Linked DNA regions of Homo sapiens: region 1 is linked to region 2. Evidence: promoter capture Hi-C in human tissues and cell types (Jung and others, 2019). All regions are on one chromosome and are shown on one strand. Each heading gives the region's core, a stretch centred on a gene start or on the middle of the fragment in contact. The rest is flanking DNA. Distances are from core to core; before and after follow the strand shown. Region 1 overlaps LINC02774 (long intergenic non-protein coding RNA 2774). Region 2 holds the start of COX20 (cytochrome c oxidase assembly factor COX20).

Region 1 (3,292 bases), core at 272-2,771, 790 kb after region 2:
TGAAGATAGAAATAATGTCATAAACTCTTGAGAAGTCCTTAGCAGATTTGCAGCAGGCATTGGTGGTATGCCAATGAAAGCAGAATGAACCTACACCAGTGATTCAAACCTGCTGAGGCTTAAGGGCAGAGGGGAGCAAAGGATAGTCTCCCTAAAACTCTTTTTCCTGTGTAGCCAGTGTTTTGTTGCTTACTGTAAATCAGTGCTTTTACAGACAGCATAATGGCTGAAGGAGGCCAATACTTCTGGCTTGGTTGGGACTAAGACAGGCCACTTCAGAGAATTTAGGAAAAAAGCAAAGAGGTGTTTCAGTAGCCACCCAACTCACAACCCTCTTCTCATTCTCTCTCCCCCCTCTATCTCCTCCAGTCTCCCCATAAAATACATTATACGTTACAGCATATGGAAGAAAAAAATGCACACAATGATGGCTTTTCTTGTTAACTTTGTACTATAAATATATTCATCATTCACTTTGTATATAATCCCAGGCCACTTTTGAACCCCAGGCTGGCTGGCTTCCTTGCTACACAGGATGCCTTTGTATCATTCACTGGTGGGAGTTTAATCAGTTAAAAATTATTTAAAGGCTATCCTAAACAAAACAAATTTCTAAAGGCAAGTCTACCATCCTTAAGAATCACATGCCTTCAAATACCAGATGTTGGAGTTAATCTGTGGGGTTGAAGGCTGCATTACTTTGGATAATTAAAAGATACACTCGTTTCATCTGTGGGCTTTTTAAGATTTACCATTTAAAATAACCCAACTAAACATGTGACTTCCAGATGAGTAAATTCTACTAAAGAAAGATTTAATATGAACCTATGATATTCAGAACCCCTTCTTCAATGATGGAAGTCTTCAGGGGTATCAATTGTGCTAAAATGTTGTACAATATTAGTAAATAGAAGTTGTTTTATTCAAAATGAGAGGATAAGACTTCTAAATATTTGAATGCTAATATTCTCACTTGTATTACATTGCTTAAATTGGAGTTTGTAGAAATTCGGGTTGCAAATGAACTTAGAAAAGTTGAAATGAACAGAACAAGAGAGGTTACCAGGTAATATTGATGCCTCACACCTACTGTGTGTTAGCTGCTGTGCTTCGGACGCAAAGATACAAATAGCGTCTGTCTGTCTGTCTGCATTCTCCTCCAGGGAGAGATTTTTCCTTTCCTTTTGTGCTTGCTTCACTCTTGAATGCAGCACCTTCTTGGATTTAAACAAGCAGAAAGGAAAATGATACATCTAGAAATTATTTACTAAGAACTTAGTATATGTTAGAGAAACACGAAACTGCATTATCATGGTTCTTGTTAAGTTTCCACCATGTGCTGGGTGCCAACAATACATGAAATAATATCATTCCCTCTTATATCTTCATTATGTATATATAAATGTCATTGTGAATCCACTGGACAAAGATGAGATTTCATTTTTCTTTCAGAGACTAATATGTTGCTGATGCCTAATAAGTGTTTACCAATCTTAACTACTGTAACAAGATAAAATTGTCTTAATACAACTCTTTGGTTATAAAGAAATTCTATAAATTTAACACAAAAGTCTTGATACATACCAAATTCAAACTATTCCCGGTAATAAGAGCAGACAGAAGGTTAAATTTCACTCCAGAAATTTACTTCGCCCTTAGCAATAACATGCAACTCAGGAAGTTACTTCTCTTACAAAGAACTAGCATTTATGCCTAAGACTAAAATGATTATTTTTAAAGTACCCATTTTACAATGCAAATGTGTATCTAAATTAAACTCAGTAAAAATAAGCATTTTAAATTGAAGCTGCAGTAATAGCTTTATGGGAGACAATAGGAAAAGTGGTTCTTGAATATGAACTCAGAGAACACACATTTCACATTCCTTCTAGGGGCCTTGAAGCTTTCTTTGTTCTCTGTCTCTGTACATAAATGTCACATGTTTTAACTGAAAACCCATTGCTCTGAAGTAACTTTACACAACTGAGGCTGTTCAGCAAGGTCATGGCAAAAAAAAAAAGTTTGGGTTCAGAAAAAGAAATTGGACTCACAACTGGTGTACAATGCCACGCCGTACCTTAGCACTTGGGATATGGGACAGATGCAGGAACACAGGCTCACTAAAACAGACAGTGACAAGAGACTGCATAACAAAGACACATGCACAATAGGGCATTTTAGAGACAAATGACAGACAGAGTAGAGCAATATATGGGACAACAGCTTTACAGGGATGGGAGGGCTGTAAAGAATGGTGAGAAGATGGTGACAGTGTAGAAGAAGGATAACGGAAGAGAGGTAAAGAGAAGGAAAGATCCCACTGGGAAGTGGTCTATGGTAGAGGCCATGGTGGTGGCAATGGTGCTGGCAGAGTTGGTGGTGGCAGCAGCAAGGTAAATAAAGCAGAGATGTGAATACTTCTTCCTGGGCTCTGCTGATGTATGCCACTATTTTTTGTCTTGCAAATTATTCTTAAATAATACTTCATGAAATAGCTGGCCCCAAAGTAAAGAAGACTAGAATATACTCAGTTGATTTTGCCAAGAGAGCACTTGATAAAAGAATAAAGAATTTTAAAAAAATAATGTAGACTATACTCAGTATTTAACTCTTTCCAGACATGAGGTTGCTACGATCAGGGCAAGGCGTGTGTGTGTGTGTGTGTGTGTGTGTGTGTACTCACATGCACACTCATATACCTAAGTTACTAGTTTGGCTGGTTTTTCTGGTAAGATTGGCTTAATATGAACTAGATTTTTCTTAATAGAGATAAGAATTTCATAGCACATTCATTGCGTAGTTTTAGGTTGACCTTATAGGGAAATTGTAGGTATGTATTGACATTTCATTGAGTAATTTGAACTATTTGTTAACCTAACTAATCACATTTCAGAAATAAATTCATTCCTTCAACAGCCACTGAATCCCTATCATGCATCAGGCCTGGTTGGAATTACATCAGCCTCTGTACAAAACATCTGGCCTGGCTCATAACCAGATGCACGAACTAGCATTGGAAGGAAACACTCTTGAACTACTTTGATAAAGTGAACCAGGAAAATTCCCATTATCAAAGATACCCACCTATTTTTTGTTTCCTATCTTCCTTGGTGGGATGTAAGCTTCCTCAGGATGGGGACTCTTCTATGATAATAGCTGTATCCTTAGCACCTAGAATGGTGCTTGGCACATAATACGCATTCAAGAAATAGTCTAGAAAGGGAGGGAGGGAGAGAACAGAAGGAAAGAAGGGAGAGGGCAGAAGAGAAGGAAAAGAAAGGGGAAGGCGGGG
Region 2 (3,007 bases), core at 107-2,606:
AACTGAATCTAGGATTTACTGTGTGTATGCAAAGATCTTTTTTTTTTTTTAAACACTAAGCTTATTCCAGATGGGCAGTGTATGGGACAGTAAAAACAGATAAGGCACCAGTAGTACGTAAACTGACAACCTGTTGGATATTAAGTATGAAAACAATTTATACAATATTTGTTAATATTAACCATATGATCTGATGTCATGGCCAAATTTGGATGGAAGCCCACCAGAGAAGCAAGCAAGAGCAAGAAGTGAGCAGAATTTCCAAGCTGGGAGAATATCTTAAGTATATATTAGGAGCCATTTAGCACACAGTGGGTCTTCTATAAATATTTGCTCGTGATTAGCCAATGTTACGATCTCCCTAGTTTATATTAAACTTTTTTCCTCTTGCATTATTCTTTTCTGAATACCTGTTCTGCCCTGAGGATATAAATTAGGTTCCCTGCTCTTAATAAGGAGCCCAGGAAAAGAGGAAAACAAGATCATTTATTACCTTCCAATATGATAAATGTAACGACGTACAAGATGCCTGGGAAGATGGGGAAAGTACGTAAGTCAGCTTTGGTGAAACACAGGAGCCCTTCCAGGGAGAGCGCTTGGTTTAGCTTTACTATACCAAGAATTTGGGTTTTATCCTTAAAGAGATAGGATGGGCTGCTACGACTGGATGTTAGGCAGAGGAATGAAAACTGTCCAGTTTACAGGCTGGAAAGGGCCAGCGGACAATAGTGGAAGGTGGATTCAGGAGAGTATGGAGACAGGGACACCAGCTAGGGAGGCTACTGGTGATGGGGAAGAAATCTTAACCCTTCATCTCATCGTAGTACAATCAAGTCATCCCTCAGCAATTACTCCTATGTTAAATGTGATGAATACAACGTGTTAAAGACAAGGCACCTGTCCTCAACGGAGCTTTAATCTCTACTATTAGCCTTTACTAACAAATTACAGTGCAGTGCCCTTAGCAGCAAAATTTTCTCGCCAAAGATTCAGTATTGTTAGCTTATTTCATAATGACCTGTAGTAAGTCATTAGTACTACTGGTCCCCTCCTCCCCCTAGTTTTGGTCAATTTTGTCCCGGCCACTTAGATTAAAATGTTGGAGGCTTGGGATAAGGACTAGGAACAGTTAAAATAGTTTCAAGCCCATGGGTGGCAGAGAAGCCAGTGACACGTGCTCCGGGCCTAGGAGCTCCGCGGAGAACGTCCTTACCCACCGCCCACCCGCGGCGCGCGCCCCGCCGACCCCCAGGTTACCTTCCTCTCCTCGGGCTCACCGGGCTCCGGCGGGGCGGCCATGAGGACTACTCCGCGACTCCACCCGCCCTGCACCGCCGGGGTCGCGGAAGCAGAAGCCCGGCTGGCCGCGCCCCTCCCCGTCCCGCCCCCACGCGCCGCCGCCTCCCGCCCTGTTCCGACGCGCCGGCCGCCATTTTAGGGAATGTTCCTAACGCTCCGCAGTGGCCGCACGGGGCCGGGCTGTCATGTCCTTTGTTCCGTCGAACGGGTCACACTTTCTTCCAAGCTCGGCACACAGCCTGCAGGGGCGGGAGAGCGGAAGGAGATGGGTTCGGAAAACAAACCGACTCCTAGATTCCTGGCGAGGTGGGGGCGTAACCGAGCCAGACAGCCCCGCTTCCCGCGCCAGCCCCCTGCTCCGCCCCAACCGCCATTTCTAACCGTCTCCGGCGCGCGTGCTCACACGCACGAGCCTCGGGCGCGCGCCGAGGGGCGGGGCCGCTGCTTTGTCCTGCGGGGTGGGCCCCACCGCGGGGGTCGGCCCGGCCCCAGCCCCCAGCCCGCCCCAGCCCACCGACCCGGAAGGCGCTCCGCGCTGGCTCGGCGGCCCTCGTCCCCTAAGTGTCCTTTGTCCTTCCGGCCACGGGACGAGCCCTTGGTGCCGGGGCAGCCCCACTCTGCACCAGCAGCCATTTAGTCCCCCGCGCCTGCCTTGCGCAAACGGGGCTCCCACGCCCACCCCACTTCCTCCCTTTTATAGTTTCATTACTAAGTGGCTTTAACATAGAACCGCGCAGTTCGCCTAAAGGAGACTGGGGACAAAATGGAGGGAGCAGCTCGCTAATGAACATGCGTCAGCACGTTGGTGTCCGCGGAGAGGGCGCGCGTGTGGCGAAGTCTTCCGGCGTCCCCGAAGGAAAAATGCCTCTGCAACGTGCATTTTTGATGTGAAGTCGTGTTCCACGTTTCACTCCTCCCTAAGACTGCGACATAACGTGAAACAAAATACTGCATATTGTCGAGCTCAATGGAGAACGCGTGCATGCAGGGTCGAGCCCATTTTTCAGCCATCAAAATAATACAATGCAATTTTTTCTAGTATTTATAATTTTTCCCCTTTAACTTTATGCCTCCTTTATGTACTTCTACATTTCACGTTTAGGTTATATGTAACCTAAGGGCACTCCTTAGGAAACTGGACTTGTAGAATATGTCATTGTGCAAAGTCATGCTGCTTCGAATTATGCTGCGCGCTGGCACACAGCAAGCGCTCAGTGTTAACGATGTCGAATTCATATTAAGTACTGTTCATTGGGCGTTTTCTTACTCCGTAAGGACCTTACTTGCATGCCCATTTGATACCTTTCTACAATCCCAGTAAAATACACAGTTAAGGTTGTGTATTTATGTGTCACATTTTTTTTTTTGAGGTTTTTTTTTGCGGGGGCGGGGGGGGTTTTTTTGTTTTTGTTTTTGAAATTGTAGTTAGAAACTACATACTGTGCCGGGCGCGGAGGCTCACGCCTGTAATCCCAACACTTTGGGGGCTGAGGCGGGCGGATCACGAGGTCAGGAGTTCGGGACCAGCCTGGTCAACTTGGTGAAACCTCGCCTCTACTAAAAATACAAAAATTAGCCTGGCGTGGTGGGGGGCGCCTGTAATCCCAGCTACTCGGCAGCCTGAGGAAGGAGAATAGCTTGAAAACGGAAGGCGGAGGTTGCAGGGAGCCGAGATCGTGCCACTGTACTCCAGCCTGGGAGAAAGAGC

Evidence for each region. Contacts are between HindIII fragments. The study calls those that stand out against the background at their distance.
Region 1: a contact is called between a fragment that was not itself captured here and the fragment with the promoter of COX20 in region 2, in 1 of the 25 tissues and cell types used here (ovary).

Annotation. Positions count from the first base shown.
Region 1 is chr1:244,041,348-244,044,639 of GRCh38, reverse strand. LINC02774 (long intergenic non-protein coding RNA 2774) reads right to left here. Exons shown (of 12, transcript NR_033883.1): 9 at 3,085-3,213; 10 at 1,091-1,217. Among named protein-coding and RNA genes, the nearest start is that of ZBTB18, 8.3 kb to the left of the region's middle. The HindIII fragment of the contact is 5,750 bases long and covers 1-3,292 here.
Region 2 is chr1:244,834,007-244,837,013 of GRCh38, reverse strand. COX20 (cytochrome c oxidase assembly factor COX20) reads right to left here and starts at 1,356. Exons shown (of 4, transcript NM_198076.6): 1 at 1,258-1,356. The coding sequence starts at 1,299. RefSeq lists silencers at 1,003-1,292, 1,333-1,382, 1,623-1,962 and enhancers at 1,463-1,582, 2,123-2,182, 2,686-3,007. The HindIII fragment of the contact is 9,754 bases long and covers 1-3,007 here.